Regions from separate parts of the Homo sapiens genome. Here region 2 is linked to region 1. The links are contacts of gene promoters, found by promoter capture Hi-C in blood cells and fetal thymus (Javierre and others, 2016). All regions are on one chromosome and are shown on one strand. The core of a region is centred on a gene start or on the middle of the fragment in contact, and the rest is flanking DNA. Distances in the headings are between cores, read along the strand shown.

What was found. Contacts are between HindIII fragments. The CHiCAGO score rates a contact against its expected background, and 5 or more counts as called.
Region 2: a contact is called between a fragment that was not itself captured here and the fragment with the promoter of H3-5 in region 1, in 2 of 17 cell types (total B cells and naive B cells). The highest score is 8.1, in total B cells.

What each region holds. Positions count from the first base shown.
Region 1 is chr12:31,790,687-31,794,071 of GRCh38, reverse strand. It overlaps H3-5 (H3.5 histone), which reads left to right and starts at 1,774. Exons shown (of 1, transcript NM_001013699.3): 1 at 1,774-2,887. The coding sequence starts at 1,906. The coding sequence ends at 2,313. The HindIII fragment of the contact is 13,966 bases long and covers 1-3,385 here.
Region 2 is chr12:32,305,879-32,309,420 of GRCh38, reverse strand. It overlaps BICD1 (BICD cargo adaptor 1), which reads right to left. Exons shown (of 10, transcript NM_001714.4): 4 at 3,299-3,542. Among named protein-coding and RNA genes, the nearest start is that of FGD4, 92 kb to the left of the region's middle. The HindIII fragment of the contact is 439 bases long and covers 1,897-2,335 here.

The sequences.
Region 1 (3,385 bases), core at 525-3,024:
AAAAGTCTGAGAAACTATCAATTGCTTATAATAAAGAATGAAAACTCCAAAGGCATCTGGGGTGAGGTTGAGGGTCTGCACAGAGATTATGGGGGAAGGGGACGTCCAAAGCTGTCATTGGATTCAGGCACTCAACAGATTGGAACACAGTGTAGAGATTTATGGTAGTGTGAAGGTGCTTTATTTGTTATGAATTACTCAGAGATTTTACTATATTTTAACCTGGGGCGGGGAACCCTTCCTTTTTTTGCCCTTTTGAAAATAAGGTAGATTTCTTCAGATGTGGAAAGTATCAATGGTCAATCCAATAGCTTTTCGTTATTTTATTTTTTTATTTTTGGAGGCAAAGTCTCACTCTGTTACCCTGGCTGGAGTGCAGTAGTGCAATCTGGGCTCATTGCAACATTTGCCTCCTAGGTTCAAGCAAGTCTCCTGCCTCAGCCTCCCGAGTAGCTGGGACTACAGGCGTATGCCACCACGCTTGGCTAATTTTTGTATTTTTAGTAGAGACAGGTTTTGCCATGTTGGCCAGGCTCGTCTCAAACTCCTGACCTCGTGATCCACCTGCCTCGGCCTCCCAGTGCTACCATTACAGGCGGAGCCACCACACCTGGCTCACTTTGTGGCATATTTCTAGAAGTTAAAAAACTCACCTGACAAAAGAGATACTTTGTGGCCAGGCACGGTGGCTCACTCCTGTAATCCCAGCACTTTGGGAGGCTGAAGTGGGTGGATCACTTCACGTCAGGAGTTCGAGACCAGCCTGGCGAAAATGGTAAAACCCCCGTCTCTACTAAAAATACAAAAATTAGCCAGGTGTGGTGGCAGGCACCTGTAATCCCAGCTACTTGGGAGGCTGAGACAGGAGAATTGCTTGAACCTGGGAGGTGGAGGTTTCAGCGAGACGAGATCGTGCCATTGCACTCCAGCCTGGGTGAGGACAGTGAAACTCCATCTCCCAAAAAACAAAAAAAAAAAAAAAAAAGAGAGAGAGAGAGAGAAACTTTATGATTTACTCCATGGAACAAATATCATATAGAACTGTAACATTTAAAAGTCAGATTTCTGTTTCTAAACTTTAGGTTTATACCTCTTGGCAGATGACTAGATGATTCTTTCCCCATTCCAAGAGTAACAGATATTCAGCCAACTTGTGTGTGTGTTTATCACATGTGATTCCACATTTCAGTTTGTTTCTCTATATTTTTTGTATTTTAAATTGGACAAGTATTACTTTTATAATAAGAAAAAAGATAATTACTAAAAATAAATGAGAAATACATATACATGTAGAATTTGCATAGTGTCAAGTAAATGATAAGGGTAGAAAGAGTGCAGAGAAAAAAAGGATGAAAACGAAGGTGGCTGAAGAATGCTTTGTGACGGAGGTGGGATTGAAATGAGCTTTGAAAGGCCGGGTGCAGTGGCTCACACCTGTAATCCCAGTAATTTGGGAGGCTGCGGCGGGCGGATCACCTGAGGTCAGGAGTTTGAGACCAGCCTGGCCAACATGGTGAAACTCCGTCTCTACTAAAAATACAAAAATTAACCAGGTGTGGTGGCAGGCGCCTGTAATCCCAGCTACTCTGGAGGCTGAGGCAGGAGAATCGCTCGAACCTGGGAGGTGGAGGTTGTAGTGAACCGAAATCACGCCACTGCACTCCAGCCTGGGCAACAAAGCGAGACTCCGTCTCAAAAAACAAAACAACAACAAAAAACGAAACACCGAAATGGGCTTTGAAGAATGGAAGGGATGCAGATAAAAGAGAGGAGGGCGCAGAGCGGTTTGGTCGTTCGTTGGACCAGTGTCGGTTCTTCGCTCGCGACTGCGGCTCTTCCTCGGGCAGCGGAAGCAGCGCGGAGGTCGGAGAAGTGGCCTAAAACTTCGGCGTTGGGTGAAAGAAAATGGCCCGAACCAAGCAGACTGCTCGTAAATCCACCGGTGGGAAAGCCCCCCGCAAACAGCTGGCCACGAAAGCTGCCAGGAAAAGCACCCCCTCTACCTGCGGGGTGAAGCCTCATCGCTACAGGCCTGGGACCGTGGCGCTTCGAGAGATTCGTCGTTATCAGAAGTCGACCGAGCTGCTCATCCGGAAGCTGCCCTTCCAGAGGTTGGTGAGGGAGATCGCGCAGGATTTCAACACTGACCTGAGGTTTCAGAGCGCAGCCGTCGGTGCGCTGCAGGAGGCTAGCGAAGCGTACCTGGTGGGTCTGTTGGAAGATACTAACCTGTGTGCCATCCACGCTAAGAGAGTCACCATCATGCCCAAAGACATCCAGTTGGCTCGCCGGATACGGGGAGAGAGAGCTTAAGTGAAGGCAGTTTTTATGGCATTTTGTAGTAAATTCTGTAAAATACTTTGGTTTAATTGGTGACTTTTTTTGTAAGAAATTGTTTATATGTTGCATTTGTACTTAAGTCATTCCATCTTTCACTCAGGATGAATGCGAAAAGTGACTGTTTACAGACCTCAGTGATGTCAGCACTGTTGCTCAGGAGTGACAAGTTGTTAATATGCAAAACGGATGCGTGATATTTCTTGCTTCTCATGATGCATGTTTCTGTATGTTAATGACTTGTTGGGTAGCTATTAAGGTACTAGAATTGATAAATGTGTACAACAGGGTCCTTTTGCAATAAAACTGGTTATGACTTGATCCAAGTGTTTAACAATTGGGGCTGTTAAGTCTGACCATACATCACTGTGATAGAATGTAGGCTTTTTCAAGGGTGAAGATACAAACCTTAACCACAGTGTAACTTATAGTTTCCTTTAAAAAAAAAAAATTAAACCTGGCAGCTATAGAATACAATATGTGCATTTATAATAGCTATTTTATATATTGTAGTGTCAACATTTTCAAATTAAATGTTTTACATTCACAAGTGGTGGGGAGTCTTGTCATTAAGGTGTGTGTAATTTAGAGTCCAGTTGGTTTTCTTCTGACTGCACTTGTTCTCATAGTAGTAAAATGCTATGTGCATTTATACCTTGCATAAATCCTCATTCTACCACATGTTAACTAACCCTCTAGCTGATAATGGAAACACTAACTGGGGGATTTTATTTATAAGGGCTCTAGAAAAAAATATGAGTTATTCACACCAGCATCATCTGTTAACTAATATTCTGAACTAGTGCAGCTTTTCATTGTGTTGTGTGGTTGGTCTCATAACTAGGTTGAGTTTTCTCCTCTGCTAAGAGGAAACAGTACTGAAGTTCTTTTTCTTGTGGCATTTGTATTATAAAAACTTGGTGTAGGGGAGGAGCACAAAGCTCTAGCCCACTGAACCTCTGCCGGTTAAGATGGTGTTAGGTTAGGTTACATCTGGTTACTGTCCTGGGAAAATCATTTTTATAGAGATGGCCTTCCAAGTGGTTTT
Region 2 (3,542 bases), core at 867-3,366, 520 kb before region 1:
ATGCTGCATATTACCTTTCTACAATCTGAAACCTGAATTTTTAAAACACACCTGGTCCCAAGCATTCCAGATAGCTATACTTAAAGTACATTTGATTGGTTCCTCTTCATAATTTCCAGAACAATGGTACTGACACATATATGCTTCAGGTGCACAGTACTCTCATTGATCAGACTTGCCATATTATTTTTAATCCTTATTAACATCAAAGCCAATTACAATAAATTCTAGGCAATGTATCCTGTAATGTTTTTGTAATGTGTTTATTTACATAAATTTAACCCAAAAAGATGTGTGGCTAAGGAAAAAACTGTATTGCAAAAAAATAGTTCATGAGAAGGTATACTTCTCATGAATATACTTGTTTGAATAAAATATATTCTTAGGAAAAGCTGACATGCTTTTTAAAAACGCTGATTACAAGAAGATAAATGGATATTCTACCTAAAAAAAAATTTACAGTTAGTGTTGTTAGTATGAGATTGGAAGCTGCAAAGCCCTTCCTGTGTTGAACCTGGTTTTCACAACTAAATCTGGAGCAAACTTTGGGATATAAGGACCTACCTGCGCCCCTCTACATCTTTGCAAACTGTCAACATCAGTTAAGGGTTGAAGAAAGATTTGAAGGGACACAGCTTTCTCAATAGACTGATGGAGGGTTTATCCAGCAAAGTTTTTCTCACCCTAACATTTTGCTAAATGAATATCCTTTTTCAGACCTTCTTGCACCATGAGACTTAACTGTTATTTTTCTATATTCCTACCAGTATCCACATCAGTCCCTTTTGGGGTGATTGGCCTTGAGCTAATAGCCCAAAAATAATAGTTAATAATAATTATCTAAATTATTATAAAGTGAGTGCCTAATAAATTAAAGGACCAATGGAGTTGAAATAATGATAACAGTTCATAATTAATGAGCATTTACTGTGCACTAGTCCCTGTTCTCAGCACTCTGCATATAACTCATAAACCTTCATGACACTCTAACGAGGAAGGTATTATGTATCCCATTCCATGGGAAAGTAAAGTGCTGTCCTCTAAGAATGACTGTCAACTAGTGGCTGACTCTCAGAGCATTTGAAATACATGGGGAGTTTCTGGTCATCACTTCAACTGAGGAAATGTAACCAGCATCTCATGAGTTGGGATCAGAGACGCTAAACCTTCTCAAGGAAGAAAACATTCTCTGGCAATGAGGAACCGCCTAAACCAAACGAAAACGACAGTCTATTGAGAACTCAGGAGAGCCAGTCTCCAGCTGAGTACTTACTTGTTTTCCACCATTCTTTTAATTGAACTTTTCATCTTTTTTAGACTTTTGTATTACCCAATTCAGATCACATTTAGAATTAAATCTGAGCACAGCTCTGAGCTTTCAGCCAATAGATGACCTGCTTGAAAATTGTTGTGCTGTTTCATGCATAGAAGCCTCTTTTCCTATTATCTTCTGCACTGCCACCAAAACAAAAGGAATAAACAAAAAGCCTGAACCCACTAACTTTTTATCTCAAAGCCACCAATATGAGAGTTAAACAAAACTCATAAAACTTCTATTTAATGGTATTCAATCTGGGGGGCACAAATTCTTATGAATACATCTGTCATGTAAAACTTTTTCACAAGGAAATATGTTTTCTGTTTCAATCAATCTAGTCATATTAGTGTAAACTGAGCAAAAAGACATAGAAAATAAACCTGTTAACAAATCAACATCATTGGCTCTCTGTTCTCTTACTTATTTCTGCTAATTTCACTTTTCCAGTCATCATTTCCGTGGAGGCAGATGACTGCCAGAGGCTTAACAGCCTCTAATTATCAGCTATACATGAAGAACCTTGGAGAGATAAGATTGAGATTGAAGATTAAGCCTCAAATTTAATCACTTAACAAGCTTGTTATACCAGATTTCTAGTTCAGTTTCTAGTTCAGTAGATCTACACGGAGCTCCACAATTTGTATAAATAAGCCCCCAGGTGATGGTAATGCTGCTGTTTCTTAAACAACATTTCCATTACATGTGGCAGGAAGGCAAGACTCTAAACTAGAAAGCGATTTTTTCAAGGCTGGGATCTTCACAAGACATTTGTTTTGAAGACGCTAAAAATTTAAGGTTTAACTCATGTTGCAATAAGAATCCTTTGGTCTTAGATTATACCTGTTCTGTATTTTTAATCATACGGTATCCTGGATAATTTGTACATAGGAAGTCCTTTACGTCTTTTAAGGCTTCAAGTATTCCTGTGAAATGTAACCATAAATCTGGAAGCTATAAACACAGTTGCTTGTGATGAAAAACTGCATGGTTTCCATCATTTTACTTGTATATAAAGCTTTTGAATTCTTTTGTTAATCAGAAATGCATTAAGGCTCTGTCTTTTCTTTTTTCTTTTTCTTTTTTTTTTGAGATGACGTTTCACTCTTGTTGCCCAGGCTGGAGTGCAATGGCGATCTCGGCTCACTGCAATCTCCACCTCCCGGGTTCAAGTGATTCTCCTGACTCAGCCTCCTGAGTTAGGTGGGATTACAGGCACCCACCACCACGTCCAGCTAATTTTTTGTATTTTTAGTAGCGATGGGGTTTTACCATGTTGGCCAGGTTGGTCTTGAACTCCTGACTTCAGGTGATCCGCCCGCTTCAGCCTCTCAAAGTGCTGGGATTACAGGTGTAAGCCACCGCGCCCGGCCCAAGGAACTTTTTTCTGTCTTTTCTCAGACTTCATTGGAGCTCAATTTGTGGCTCTCAGAAGTTCATTTCTTGAAGTGATGCAAATGAGAGACTGCATTTCTCTTTAACGCTCCTTCTGTCATGTCTTTCTAAAATACTGCACTTTCGAAGTTTCTAGCTGAAGAAGCAATATTTAGAAAAGAAAGCTGGGGCTGGGCGCGGTGGCTCACGCCTGTAATCCCAGCACTTTGGAGGCCAAGGCGGGCGGATCACGAAGTCAGGAGATCGAGACCATCCTGGCTAATACGGTGAAACCCCGTCTCTACTAAAAATACAAAAAAATTAGCCGGGCATGGTGGCGGGCACCTGTAGTCCCAGCTACTCGGGAGGCTGAGGCAGGAGAATCACTTGAACCTGGGAGGCGGAGGTTGCAGTGAGCCGAAATTGCACCACTGTACTCCAGCCTGGGCGATGGAGCAAGACTCTGTCTCGAAAAGAACAGAAAAGAAAAGAGAAGAAAAGAAAAAAGAAAAGAAATCTAGAAGTGAAATGCGAGAATCAGAAGTCCCACAACATGCTACCTGCAATCTACAAGAAATTCACTCTAGCGGCCCTAAACAAAGTTCTTACCTGCATAAGCTGCTGCTTCAACTTCTGTATTTCTGAAATGTTCAGCTCACTGAATAAGTCAGAGACAGGGTTCAGAGACTCTCCTTTCCTTAAGGTGGGAGTCCGATAGTCTCCATTCAGTTTCACAAGAGGCCCATGGATATGACCGTTCATTTTGTCATCATTGTTTGGTTCACTCCCATCCTCGGCAAATTTGAGTCCATCTACTGAGATGCTGATATGGTTATCATTGAGGCTGATATAC